Linked DNA regions of Homo sapiens: region 1 is linked to region 2. Evidence: promoter capture Hi-C in 16 types of primary human blood cells and fetal thymus (Javierre and others, 2016). All regions are on one chromosome and are shown on one strand. The core of a region is centred on a gene start or on the middle of the fragment in contact, and the rest is flanking DNA. Distances in the headings are between cores, read along the strand shown.

Region 1 (4,248 bases), core at 593-3,092, 880 kb before region 2:
TTTAGCTGCTTAGTCTCTTACAGCAGAAGGGTGATTTCATCCATGGCCTTAGGTGGGTTTGAAGCAATATGTAAAACATAATTTTACTATACCAAATTCCATAGTAAGCTAAAGAGTAAATTTTGTAGCAAATAAACATTCCCATAACTAAAAGTGTGAAACACTACTGACAAACTTCACATGGTTCTGTGACATGGAGGTATCTTGAAAGGAAAATTACAATAGCAGTGGAAAAACACTAATATTAAAATTTGCTCACAGAGGCCACCCAGAATTACTTTAATGTTAGTTTTGTCTGTAGAGGAGGGACGAGTGTATGTATGTGCGTAATTTTTTAGGGAGTAGAAGCTTACTGATTTTATTCTTTTTTGTTGTTATCAGCTTCCTTGGGTTGAATGATTTTACTCTTAATGATTTGGCTTCCTGCCTTTCTTAAACTAATAAATAATAGTTGCATCAAAATTCTTTCTTCCTCCTAGGCTTTTGTCAGTTATGTTCTCTTTTTTCCTCCCACTTTTTCCAGGTGTTTATTGTTTTACAGCAGTACTTTTAAAAGTCAAAAGGGGAGATTTTGGTCAGTTGTTTTAAAATTTCAATTGAGAATTAAGGATACATGAGGTTTAATTTGTTGAAGGAACTCAGAGACCCTAATAAAAATTACCCAAGAACAGAACAATTTACAAACCAGCTTGACTGACTTTCTCATCTATTTGTCAAGGAAACAAAAAGTAGTTGTGTTTCGTAGTGATTTCAAATTCCACTGCCCCCACAGATATTAATTATAGAACACTGGAGGAATGTACATCTTAGGGAGAAAGTAGTAGAACCTAGTTATTCCTTTTGAGAAAAGGCAACAATTCCATCTGTGCTTTGAAATATTAAAGCTTTTCTGGCTAAGATAAAGATAGTTTTTAAAAATGCTTCATTCTTATTCTCTTGTTTTTAGAGAAATATTGAAATAGAGGCTCTTTGATGAAGGAAATGAAAATGTTTGGTTTGCTGGGTTTAAATTTTACTAGTGTTTGATTGAGGCCTTGATCTCTCCCTCATCTCTCTTTCTTCACTTCTTTCTCTTATAATTAATTTCACTTACTTGCACTTTCTAGTTCTCTGGAATCCATTAGCAGAGAGAGAGAGTGATTCTTTATTACCCTTTAGTAAAAGTTGCACTGTGAAAGGAAAAAAGGATCTTTTAATGTTTGGGATTATAACTTAACATTTTTTGTTTTAAAAAACCTAGAATGGATCCTGAGCTGTTTTTGTGTTCCTTTACTGTCATCATAGTTTTAGAGTGTAGCATGATACAGTCTTTTTTTTTTTTTGAGACGGAATCTTGCTCTGTTTGTTGCCCAGGCTGGAGTGCAGTGGCGCCATCTCGGCTCACTGCAAGCTCCGCCTCCCGGGTTCACGCCATTCTCTCGCCTCAGCCTCCTGAGTAGCTGGGACTACAGGCGCCCGCCACCACGCCCGGCTGATTTTTTGTATTTTTAGTAGAGAAGGGGTTTCACCGTGTTAGCCAGGATGGTCTCGATCTCCTGACCTCGTGATCCGCCCGCCTTGGCCTCCCAAAGTGCTGGGATTACAGGCGTGAGCCACCGCGCCCGGCCGATACAGTCTTTTAAAATGATGATCTTTGTGTCTAGGAGGCAGTATTACTTGAAAGATTAAAATTCTCTTATAATATGTTATGCCTAAAGATACAGAATGAGAAAATGAACTTAGAAATACTGAGTGCTGGCCGGGCGCTGTGGCTCACGCCTGTAATCCCAGCACTTTGGGAGGCCAAGGTGGGGAGATCACCTGAGGTCAGGAGTTTGAGACCAGCCTGGCCAACATGGTGAAACCTTGTCTCTACTAAAAATACAAAAATTAGCTGAGCGTGGTGGCATGTGCCTGTAGTCTCAGCTACTCGGGAGGCTGAGGCAGGAGAATTGCTTGAACCCAGGAGGCAGCAGTTGCAGTGAGCTGAGATTACGCCACTACACTCCAGCCTGGTGACAGAGCGAGACTATCTCCAGAAAAAAAAAGAAAAAAAGAAAGGAAATATTGAGTACTTCCTCTATGTAAACCCCTGTATTGGGTGCTGAAAGAGATGGAATTATAAGGAACTTAACATTTAGTAAATGGGCCGGGCGCGGTGGCTCACGCCTGTAATCCCAGTACTTTGGGAGGCCGAGGCGGGCGGATCACGAGGTCAGGAGATTGAGACCATCCTGGCTGACGGTGAAACCCCGTCTCTACTAAAAATACAAAAAATTAGCCAGGCGTGGTGGCGGGCGCCTGTAGTCCCAGCTACTCGGGAGGCTGAGGCAGGAGGATGGTGTGAACCTGGGAGACAGAGCTGGCAGTGAGCCGAGATCGTACCACTGCACTCTAGCCTGGGCGACAGAGCAAGACTGCGTCTCAAAAAAAAAAAAAAAACATTTAGTAAGTAAGATAGGAATTGAACACATATAACTGGTTCTGGGAAGTATAATAATATGAGTTTTATATGCTCTAACAGTTTAGAATAGGTATCACTTTGGTTGGATTGCTGGATCCTTATTGTTTACTGAGGATCCTTACTAGCTATCATACATGTATTACCTATAATCTTGATGTCAGCTCTGCAAAATATGAATTTGTAAATTTATAAAAAATATGAATTTATAAAATATAGATGTGTAACAGTTGAATTTATAAATTTATTAAAAATTTATAAATTGAGTCTCAGAGAAGTAAATTGATTATTTTGGGGAAATTGTCAGAACATTTATAGTGTAGGAAAAGGAAACGTGCCTGGTTTCAGAGTGGCTAAGCATAAGCTTAATTTTGTTTTATATAAGCAGAAGTCACGTGAAGGTAAGTGGGAGAAAGAAAAGAAATACGGTGGATTCAAAGCCCAAGTTGCTTACAAGTATGTTGTTATTACTTAATAATCTTATATTTCCAGTCATTAATGTAGTTAATTTTACAAACATAACACTAATAGTTTAGTAAGAAAATAACATTTACTGAGTTCTTATGTGATTTCATTTAATATAACAATTCATTAGTTAATGTATTATTACTGAGTAAATCTATTAGTGATGTATATGTAAATTACACTGGTGACAGGTAAAATAATAAACCCTATAAATGACAATAAATTAAGTACTTGAGGGCTCAGTGAGGTTAAAATAACTTGTTCAAGGTACACAACTAATGAACAATAGAGCCAGGTTGCAAACTTAAGCAGTCTTGACTCCAAGGCCTACACTTTACCATTATGGTAGACGGCTTCCTGCTTCTTTCAGAGTATATTGGTATTTTATAGTGTTCCATGGACAGTGTGGTATATACAGGATAAAAGTTCCCAAACAGCCTTGCACCTGCCCATTCTCATATAGAAGCAAGTAGAAGAACACACTTCTCTCCTTTTAAGCCAGACCATTAAACAGATTTGCAAAAATGAAAAACAATTTGCTCCCACTAAATTTTTGTTTTACAAAATATAGTTATTTTTAATTAAGAAATAATTTATTGGCTAGACAGGGTGGCTCACTGAGTGCCTGTAATCCCAGCAACTTGAGAGGCCAAGGCGGGTGGATCACATGAGGTCAGGAGTTCGAGACCAGCCTGGCCAAAATGAAGAAACCCCATCTTTACTAAAAATACAAAACTTAGCCAGGCATGGTGGTGCGCGCCTGTAATCCCAACCACTTGGGAGGCTGAGGCAGGATAATCCCTTGGACCCGGAGGTGGAAGTTGCAGTGAGCCGAGATGGTGCCACTGCACATCAGCCTGGGCAACAGAGTGAGACTTCATTAAAAAAAAAAAAAAAAAAAAGGCCCAGCTGAATTGGCTCATGCCTGTAATCCCAGTACTTTGGGAGGCCCGAGCAGACAGATCACAAGGTGAGGAGTTCAAGACCAGCCTGGCCAACATGGCGAAACCCTGTGTCTACTAAAAAAAAACAAAAATTAGACCGTCATGGTGGCGTGCGCCTGTAATCCCAGCTACTCAGGAGGCTGAGGCAGGAGAATTGCTTGAACCTGGGAGGCGGAGGTTGCAGTGAGCCCAGATCACGCCGTTGCACTCCAGCCTGGGCGACAGAGCGAGACTCCATCTCAAAAAAAAAACAAAAAGAAAGAAAAGAAATAATTTATTGATTGTAATGGATTTATTGTTTTTAATGGGTTAATGGATGTTTTTAAATTCTTAGGTTTAATTTCTGTTTATTTTATTTTTATTTACGTATTTTTTTTTGAGACCGAGTTTTGCTTTTGT
Region 2 (4,200 bases), core at 1,462-3,961:
AAGTTGGAAATCGTCATCTGGTCTGATATTTTACCCTTAAGCATGTCAATCTCAGCTATTCTGAGATGTATTCAGAGATGAAGTCTCATTCTTTATTAGTTTTGTTTTTCTTTTTTTGAGACGGAGTTTCACTCTTGTCGCGCAGGTTGGAGTACAATAGCACGATCTCGGCTCACTGCAACCTTTTCCTCCCGGATTCAAGTGATTCTCCTGCCTCAGCCTCCAGAGTAGCTGGGACTATAGGCACCCACCACAATGCCCGGCTAATTTTTGTATCTTTAGTAGGATGGGATTTCACCATGTTGGCCAAGATGTTCTCGATCTCCTGAACTTATGATCCGTCCGCCTCGGCCTCCCAAAGTGCTGAGATTTCCCAGCCTTGGTTTTCTTTTTTAGTCTTGCTCTGTTACCCAGAGCAATCTCAGCTCACTCTAGCCTTGACTTTCTGGGCTCAGGCGACTTTCCTACCTCAGTCTCTCAAGTAGCTGGGACTACAGGCTGGCACCATCACAATCAGCTAATTTTTGTATTTTTTTGTAGCGACGGGGGTATCCAGGCTGGTCTCGGACTCCCAACCTCAAGTGATCTGCCCACCTCGGCCTCTCAGTGCTGGGATTACAGGCGTGAGCCACCGTGCCCAGCTGGCCTTCTTTTTTTCATTATGGGAATTTCCAAACCAAAAGTAGAGTAGTATGGTGAACCACTATGTACACATAACCCAGCCTCAATAATTATCAACATAAATAAGACCAGCGTGGCCGGGTGCAGTGGCTCAAGCCTGTAATCCCAGTTTTCGGAGGCTGAGATGGGAGGCCAGGAGTTAGAGGTTGCAGTGAGCTATGTATGATTGCACCACTGCTGCACTCCAGCCCAGTGAGACCTTGTCTCTTTTGTTTTACTTTGAGACCCTGTCTCAAAAAACAAAACTATTTGTTTCTTCCAGAGGATTAAGTTAAATCCCAAACTTCATATACTTTTTTTATCTATGAATACAACATATAACCCTTAATAAAGCCTACTTTTATAAGGGTGATAACTTTAACACTATTATCATGCCTAAAAAAATTGCTTAATATCAAATATCCAGCTGATGTGATGGCTCACGCCTGTAATCCCAACACTTTGAGACTTTTTTTTTTTCAGAGATGGGGTCTGGCTATGTTGCCTACGCTGGTCTCGAACTCATGCGCTCAAGCCATCCTCCCACATCAAAAAATTAAAAACAAATTAGCTGGGCTTGGTGGCATGCACCTATAGCCCCAGCTACTCAGGAGGCTGAGGCAGGAGGATGGCTTGAACCCGGGAGGTGGAGATTGCAGTGAGCCGAGATCAGGCCACTGCACTCCAATCTGGGCAACAGAGCGACACCCTGTCTCAAACAATAAAACTTTGTAGAGACGGAGTCTGGCTGTGTTGTCCAGGCTGGTCTCAGACTCCTAGCCTGAGTTGATCCTCCTGCCTGGGCCTCCCAAAACGCTGGGATTATAAAACCTAAGCCATTGCATCAGGCCTTGAATGTAATTTTTGATTAACCAAAACGGTTTAGTGGTTTGTTCTTTGGCAGATTAGTTAATATAATTGAGTTGTCAAATCTTTTCCGGGCTCTGTACTGGGCTTAGGGAATTGTAAAGATTAAGACACGTTGCCGGCCAGGTGTGGTGGCTCACGCCTGTAATCCCAGCACTTTGGGAAGCTGAGGTGGGTGGATCATCTGAGGTCAGGAAATCGAGACCAGCCTGGCCAACATGGTGAAACCTCGTCTCTACTAAAAATACAAAATTAGCCGGGCATGGTGGAATGCCCCTGTAGTCCCAGCTACCTGGGAGGCTGAGGCAGGAGAATCCCTGGAACCCAGGAGGTGGAGGTTGCAGTGAGCCGAGATCGAGCCACTGCACTCTAGCCTGGGTGAAAGAGCGAGACTCCTCCGTCTCAAAAAAAAAAAAAAAAAAAAAAAAAAAAAAAAAAAAAAAGGCACGTTGCCCACCCTTAGTTAAACGAGGGAGGAGATAAATATACAAATAAATTCAATTGAAGGGTATAAGGGCTTGTTGAATTAAAATTCTACAGGGAACTGAGGGCTGTAGAAAGTCATTAGCGATCCCGACACTTTTTTTTTTCTTTTTTTGAGACGGAGTCTCACTCTGTCCCCCAGGCTGGAGTGCAGTGGCGCGATCTCGGCTCACTGCAATCTCTGCCTCCCGGGTTCAAGTAATTCTCCTGCCTCAGCCTCCCGAGTAGCGGGGATTACAGGCGTGCGCCACCATGCCCGGCTAATTTTTTGTATTTTTAGTAGAGACAGGGTTTCACCATGCTGGCCAGGCTGGTCTCGAACTCCTGACCTCGTGATCCGCCCGCCTTGGCCTCCCAAAGTGCTGGGCTAACAGGCGTGAGCCACCGCGCTCGGCCGATCCCGACACTTTTTTAAAATGCCGAAGCCGGAATCGACACAGCACTTTCAAAGGTTCCTCCATAGCTCCCCTGAGATCCGGCCAGCGGGAAACCCCAACTGAGAACTGCAATGGCAGGGAAAGTGGAGGCTAGATCCTGTTTTTTGTGTTACCGCGATTCCCTTCAACTACCCTCAAGACGCCTACAAATTTGTTTGGCGGCACCTACAACTCCCAGAACGCAACGTGGGGGACGGAGGCGGAAGCAGCTGGCCAAGCCGAGGTCTGTGATTGGTGAAGAGCGACGGGCCAATTGGAGGAGTTGTTGTTAGGCCGTCCCGGAGACCCGGTCGGGAGGGAGGAAGGTGGCAAGATGGTGTTGGAAAGCACTATGGTGTGGTGAGGAGCTACTTCGGGGCAGGAGGGGCAGAGCTGGGTTCCGGGCGCGTGTAGCGCCAAGGCAGGGAGGGCCTGGGGTGGGGGCCAGGGGCTCATGGGCGAGAGGCGGCCCTGGCCCCGGAGGTAAGGAGCCCGCTGGACTCCCTGAGTCATCCCGGGGCCCTGGAGTGGCGGATAGTCCCGGGTTACCACTGTTACCCCCAGGGGGACGGTCATTGACTGGTCATTCCTGCTTCCTTTCTCTGTTCTAGCGCCGTCTTCTCTAGAGCAGCCCGGGTCTGTCTTTAGCTACAGTTCTGCTTTTCGGACTCATCGTAATAGTTTTCTGCCCTCCTTTCTTTGCAAAATAACGTCTATTAGGAAAATAGATTATTAATCCCTTCCTCTCCCCATTCCCTCGTCTCTAACTTCATTACCTTTCCCTGTATCATCTTCAAAGGTACCATTTACAGATTGCTTTTTATGTATCAGTCATTTTGTTTATCTCACTTATACCTCACAACCACACCTTAAGGTAAATTATCTCTCCATTTTACGGTTCAGGATACCGAGTCTCAGCGATTTTAAGTGATTTGTCCAAAATCATACAGCTAGTTAAGTGGTGGAGTCAAGATTTAAACCCACGGCTGTCTGACACAAAGGCTTTATCCGGTGAGGTAGCTCTCTTTGTCAGTTTCAGGCTTGGGCTGAGTACCTATTACGAGTCACATTAGAAGAGGAGGACATAAATTTTTGCAGGGTTTCAAGAGTTCCTTCTAAGTGTAATCACTGAATGTAATACAGAATAGTTGACGAACACAAATCACCGATTGGGTGAAACAGGCACCTATGAGATTTCTTCTTTTTATTTTCTCGGGGGAGCATAGCATTGCCAGATAACATACAGGATGCCCAGTGAAATTTGAGTTTCAGATAAACGATGAATAATTTTTTTTTGAGACGGTCTCGCTCTGTCTCCCGGACTGGAGTGCAGTGGCCCAGTCTGGCTCACTGCAGCCTCCGCCTCCCTGGTTCAAGTGATTCCCAGTGATTGAACTAATTTACACTTGCACCAACGATAGAACAGTGTTCTCTTTTCTCGCAACCTTGCCAGCATCTGTTATTTTTTTAGTTTTTAGTAATAGCCATTCTGACTGGTGTTAGGTGGTATCTCGTTGTGGTTTTGATTTATTTGCATTTCTCTAATGATCAGTGATATTGAGGTTTTTTTAATAGGCTTGTTGGCTGTATGTATATCGTCTTTTGAAAAGTGTCTGGCTGGGGCGTGGCTCAGGCCTGTAATCCCAGCACTTTGGAAGGCTGAAGTGGGTGTATCACCTGAGGTCAGGAGTTACTGACCAGCCTGGCCAACATGGTGAAACCCCATCTCTACTAAAAATACAAAAATTAGCCAGGCGTGGTGGTGGACGCCTGT

What was found. Contacts are between HindIII fragments. The CHiCAGO score rates a contact against its expected background, and 5 or more counts as called.
Region 1: a contact is called between a fragment that was not itself captured here and the fragment with the promoter of PSMD4 in region 2, in 1 of 17 cell types (monocytes). The highest score is 5.2, in monocytes.

The regions. Positions count from the first base shown.
Region 1 is chr1:150,375,193-150,379,440 of GRCh38, forward strand. The region is part of intron 1 of RPRD2 (regulation of nuclear pre-mRNA domain containing 2); the gene reads left to right. Among named protein-coding and RNA genes, the nearest start is that of RPRD2, 13 kb to the left of the region's middle. The HindIII fragment of the contact is 1,920 bases long and covers 883-2,802 here.
Region 2 is chr1:151,252,023-151,256,222 of GRCh38, forward strand. It overlaps PSMD4 (proteasome 26S subunit ubiquitin receptor, non-ATPase 4), which reads left to right and starts at 2,712. Exons shown (of 10, transcript NM_002810.4): 1 at 2,712-2,786. The coding sequence starts at 2,761. RefSeq lists an enhancer at 2,604-2,793 and a silencer at 2,834-2,973. The HindIII fragment of the contact is 14,627 bases long and covers 1-4,200 here.